2 separate regions of the Homo sapiens genome follow, and region 1 is linked to region 2. The links are contacts of gene promoters, found by promoter capture Hi-C in blood cells and fetal thymus (Javierre and others, 2016). All regions are on one chromosome and are shown on one strand. The core of a region is centred on a gene start or on the middle of the fragment in contact, and the rest is flanking DNA. Distances in the headings are between cores, read along the strand shown.

Region 1 (2,909 bases), core at 132-2,631, 2.8 Mb after region 2:
TTTTAACATCCAGGTCACTTTCCACTCCCTAGCTCCTTCATGATATGTCTTCCTCCCTCACTCTTATTTTTAGAATAATAACATTATTCCAGTGCAACACAATCACATAATAATAAAGATAACTAACATTTGTATAATAATACTTTATAAATTACCAATATTTTCAAATCTGTATTAGTTTTCTAGGGCTGCCACGACAAAATACCACAAATGGGGTGCCTTAAACAATAGAAATTTATTTTCCCACAGTTCTGGAGGGTGGACGTCCAAGATCAAGGTGCTGGCAGGTTTGGTTTCTTCTGAGGCCTCTCTCCTTGGCTTGTAGATGGTTTCCTCTCATTGTGTCCTCACATGGTCACTCCTCAGTGTGTGGACTGTGTCCTGATCTCCTCTTCTTATAAGGATATCAATCATATTGTATTAAGGTCTACTCATATGACCTTATTTTATCTTAGTTACCTCTTTAAAGGTGCTATCTCCAAGTACAGTCACATTCTGAGGTACTGAGAGTCAGGACTTCAGCATGTGCATTTGGGACAGGGGTTGTGGGGAAAAGACACAATTCAGCCCGTGAGTATCCATTATCTCATTTATCCTCATAAGCAATAACTGCAGCCACTCTGTGCCCGTGCACTATTTTCATGGTGAACTTCTTCAAAAGACGGCTCTTCTGCACCTAACTTTACTTCTTCAGGCCTTCATGATCTAGACCTCAAGTCTATTTATTTTGGAAAGGGGCTTTGTTCCTTAATGAGTGAATACAACAGTGCATCAAAATTCTAGAGTTTCTTACAGAGTTTAAATTGTCAAGAGCTGAGCCTCATTGTCAGTAGAAGAAGAAGAAGAAAGTGCTCCTTCCCTAGCACTGAGAAAACAGGAAAACTAAATTCGTAAGCAAAACTTGTTTTTTGCAGTCATTCAAAGCCTAAGTAAGGCATTTAAAGGTGCATATGTTGGGCATTTCAACTGGAAAAATGCTAGCCTAGTTAAGAATGGAAACGGGTACCTACTGCCTTGTACGTCTGCCTATTTTCTGACCCCAGGGCCCGCAAAGCACCCATTGATGTGAATGGCTCCTTTCATATGAAAAAAACAGTGAGGCTGGTCTCGAACTCCCAACCTCAGATGAACTGCCTGCCTTGGCCTCCCAAAGTGCTAGGATTACAGGCATGAGCAACCGCGCCTGGCCTTTCAAAAGGATCTTAATCCCAGGCCAATGTGGGGAGCACTGTATATACTACAGTATGACTGAGAGTTGTTTTAGAGCCCTGCAAAGTTCCCTTGTTAGCATTTTAGTCAGGGGTATGAAGACACTGTGCACTGCAAGACTCAACCCATTTCTGATCCCTTTCTCATGAATCACTCTGATACTATACCCAGAAAAAGCCATCACATGCCATCTAATGCATTTCAGGACTGCATCTGAGCTGCAAGCGGAAGACACAGTAGATGTGACATTGACTGTGAACTGCACATGAAGCAAGTGCAACCTCAGGCCTGCCTTGCTTCAGAAGGTGGGTAGCTATGTCTTGCCCTCTTTACAAGTTGAAAAGTGGGGAAACAATGCAATGGCTTGATCATAAGGTCACTTTCTCTCCAATCGAGAATTATTTCCCTTCCTTTTATAAAGTGGGAAAATGTAAAATCCTCCTGATGGGTAGAGTGATTTTTGAAATGTTTTTGGAAGGTAGAGGCTGCTGATTCTGTGCTTCCCTTTTTTCTCTAGGAATCTCCCTCTTCTCCTTTTCACTTCCTTCGACTTTTGATAGAAACAGTTTATATTAATATGGTGATGCCACTTATGTGTATAAATAAATGCAAACAGCTATTAAATGTTCAGAAAGTAGCATCAACATCTTTTTACACAACTTGTGCTAGTGAGTGTTTTTTCGTCATAATTTCCAAGTCCTGCTGCCAAAGAGCATTTCCCAGAGATCTTTGTAGTAGTGTATGCATCCAGCACATGATTGCGAGAAACCCACAACTGAGGAAGAGATCTTTAAGATTTGAAATTTGAAGAATTTTTGCCACTAAGTGACAGACCCTCACATCAATATTTAACTAACAAGGTTTTCTCTTAGCGTACACAAATATATATTTGATTTCGGTTCTAAACATTATATATATATATATGTGTGTGTATATATATTTATGTATGTATACACACACACATATATATATGAATCCATTTTATTCTGTTTTTTTTTAACTTTTATTAACCATGCCCTCTTGCCAGAAGAGTTTAGAGATCATCAGCATCAAAATTAGTGTATGTTGATGACTATCCCAGCATCCAAAACACAAAAATATGTAAGACCCTATCAGTGCACAAAGTTGTAGGCAGCTATGGGAAAGTGAGCATTTTTTTTTTTTTTTTTTGAGATGGAGTCTCACTCTGTCGCCCAGGCTGGAGTGTAGTGGTATGATCTCCACTCACTGCAACCTCCATCTCCCGGGTTCAAGCAATTCTCTGCCTCAGCCTCCCGAGTAGCTGGGATTGCAGGCACCCACCACCATGCCTGGCTAATTTTTGTCTTTTTAGTAGAGACAGGGTTTCACCATCTTGGCTAGGCTGGTCTTGAATTCCTGACCTCATGATCCACCCACCTCAGCCTCCCAAAGTGCTGGGATTACAGGCATGAGCCACCGTGCCCAGCCCAGAAAGTGAGCATTTTCTTAAATGAGCCTTGATTTCCCTCTTGCATACCAATGTAAAAATACCAATTAGCATCTTTTTTCTGGATCTGTGTTGTGTTTGTGCATATCTGCCTAGTAGCCCTCGTATTCTTTCTCCTCCCTCTCCTAAGAGCGCTTCCTGCTCTTTCCCTAATTGTTGGGCAGTAAGAGAGATGGGCAGATCAATCTAAGTGAGTAAAGCTTGCAGAGAGCAGAAATAGATTTGCTAACTT
Region 2 (2,728 bases), core at 193-2,692:
TCTAACAGTGCACCTTCACTCTGGTTTCTTGAGAAGCTTTGCTTCCTTAAATAACCCCTTGCGCTGGGGAGAAATGTTTCTCTTGGCAATCTTTTCTTAGATAAACTATTCACAAAACCTGCTCATACAATACACATTTATTGAACACTTTTATCTAAGCACCTGGCATATCACTTCTGGTTGGGCCTGGCTTTCTGCAGAGCCACAAGGGGTTTCCACCAGCATGATAGGGCTTCAATCTTTCCCTTCCTTCTCCCACCTCAACACCTCTCCCTCACTTGCCTGCTACAAAGTTTGAAATTTTTACCATGAGAGTAATTCCATTGAGCACACCCACATAGGCTCTAGGCATAGCTTTCAAAAATGCAAATATCTTTTTTGAAGTAAATTTAAATGAAATAATGGTAACTCTAGAGTATTTTGGGAAGGGTACATGGGAGGCTCTTGATATATTTTTCTTTTTCTACTAATGTAAATTAATTCATTGGTTTGTGTTTCAGTTGATTAACCACTATTAGCACAGTGAGGCACAGAGGCTTTTGTTTTAGATAGGAATGAAGGATAATATTGGAAAGTTAAGTCCTATCTTGGAAGGGCTTGCTTGGATGGGGGATTTACAGTAATCACTTCAGGAAGGTATGGCATGCTTGGGGTAGGGTGCGGAGGTGGTTGCATAACAGGAGTAGAAGGGGAGAAGGAGGCTGGAAGATGAGGCAAGGGGTCAATAGCGAACCTGCTTTACACCTTGGTCTCTGGATATGGCTTTGCATAATCATGACTACTTAATCCAGCTGATCTTTCTTGTGTCCTTCCATTGTAGATTCCCTAAAATGCCAACAGAGATGTATCTAATGAATTGGAGAAATGGGTTCATTTATGAATACAGTAACTAGGGAAGAGTCCCAAAAAGTAGAAATCAAATTAAGTTAACTCATTTTCTCCCTCTAATCCCCACATTTTAACCATGACAAAACTCAGCCTTTTGATTCTTCTGCCCGTGTTCTGATTATACCCTATTAAAGATACAGTCAGGATACAGAGATAATGCTGGAATATACGTCCTATTAATAGATATAGTCAGAGATGGTTTATCAACATAAAACCCTGTGGAAGTTTATACAAGACAATATAAAGAAATAGAGATAATCAATAAGTCTCTTTTTGCTCTAGGCCAGTTGCTTTCCATAAAGCCCCATGGGCATGGATGTAGGTTTACAATATCCCTGAAAAGTAATCTTTGCTCTCTATCTTTGCTTATGCCAGAATTTCCAGATATTAAGATCTTTAGTATTAAAGAGGGCTCAGAAAACCAAGTATATGTAAATCATTTGTCTCTCCCTTCCCCTTAGTTTCTTTTTTTCCCCTTTATTTCTTCTACAAACTCTACCTCCCCTTTTTGATGTGTCTTGTCTTCCTGATCCTTCCCTAGTCAATTAGCTTCTGAGGAGTCTAATCTTTCTCCACTGGAACTATCCAATAGAATCTCAGAACATTCTGAGAGGTCATGACATAGGATGGGCGGGGCAACATGTCATAGTGGGGTGGGTGGCAATGGTTTCTCATCATTTGTGTAGAGTCCAGAGCCTAGATAAGTGTGTGGATTTCATGGCCAAGTCTTCCCTGGATAGCAGTAGGTTCAATGGATTTGATTTCTGGGCTGTTTGAAGGGGCAACCTCTATCTTTTATTTCTCTGGCAGATAAAGCTCTCTTCCTGCCTCAGTGTGACTAAAATGGAAAGTCTAGGTCTTTTGGCCAGCAGTCTAATTTCATCATGTAGCCAACTAACTACTCATTCATTCAACAAACAGTGAAACACTGAATGAACACGATGTGTATCTTCTAGGCTCTGTTCTAAGCACTGGAGGGAAAGAATGAACAAAGCAGCCAAAAGCCCTTGACCTCATGAAGTTTATATTCTAAGATGTGTGTGTGTGTGTGTGTGTGTGTGTGTGTGTGCGCGCGCGCGCGTGTGTGTAGGGGGGACTGGTAACACAATCAATAAAATAAATAAAATTATTTTTACTTGATATGATAAAAGAGGAGACTGCTGAAATTTTACCCCAAAGAGTTAAAGAAACCAGTGACTAACAAATTCTTGAGCTTGCAGAATAGCAGATAAGAAAATAAACAACTTGCTGAAATGCTGAAACTCCCTCTATTTGAGAGATTTCAAAACAAAAAACCTAGCTGAAATTGGTTGGAACCAATAAGGCCAACTGGAGTCTGTGCAGAACAAGCTTACTGATGTCACAGCTTGAATTTCCACTGCATGTTTTATACTAATTTCCCCTGAATTTGCACATGGGACCCATAAGGAGGCATGAAGAGATAATCGTGCATGCCTGAGGACTTTCCAGACCTCCCCTTTTCTTCTACCAGTCATTTGCTAATTCCAGAATCCACTCCCTAAACCTTTTCTAATAAAAGTACTGCCTGAGAGCCAGCACAGAGAGACAGATTTGAGTTGGATTCCTGTGTCCTTGTTAGTAGACCTACAGTAAAAAGCCTTTTTTTTCTCACAAACCTTGTGTCATAGTATTGGCTTCCAGCACATTGGGCAGTGACACTCTTTTGCTTGGTAACACTGCCATGAGGAAACATAAACAGGTGAAGGAGGTAAGAGTGAGGAGGTTGTTGCAAGTATAATTAGGGTGGCGCAGAAGAAGCGACTGAGCATTCTCAGACCCGTTAAGTGGGGTGTAGATGTGGTAAGAAGCTTGGTGGACA

What was found. Contacts are between HindIII fragments. The CHiCAGO score rates a contact against its expected background, and 5 or more counts as called.
Region 1: a contact is called between a fragment that was not itself captured here and the fragment with the promoter of TMCO5A in region 2, in 1 of 17 cell types (M2 macrophages). The highest score is 5.2, in M2 macrophages.

The regions. Positions count from the first base shown.
Region 1 is chr15:35,095,131-35,098,039 of GRCh38, reverse strand. LOC105370765 (a long non-coding RNA gene) reads left to right here. Exons shown (of 2, transcript XR_932103.4): 1 at 1-1,514. Among named protein-coding and RNA genes, the nearest start is that of NANOGP8, 11 kb to the right of the region's middle. The HindIII fragment of the contact is 2,996 bases long and covers 1-2,879 here.
Region 2 is chr15:37,933,354-37,936,081 of GRCh38, reverse strand. TMCO5A (transmembrane and coiled-coil domains 5A) reads right to left here and starts at 1,442. Exons shown (of 12, transcript NM_152453.4): 1 at 1,388-1,442; 2 at 734-825. The HindIII fragment of the contact is 2,202 bases long and covers 39-2,240 here.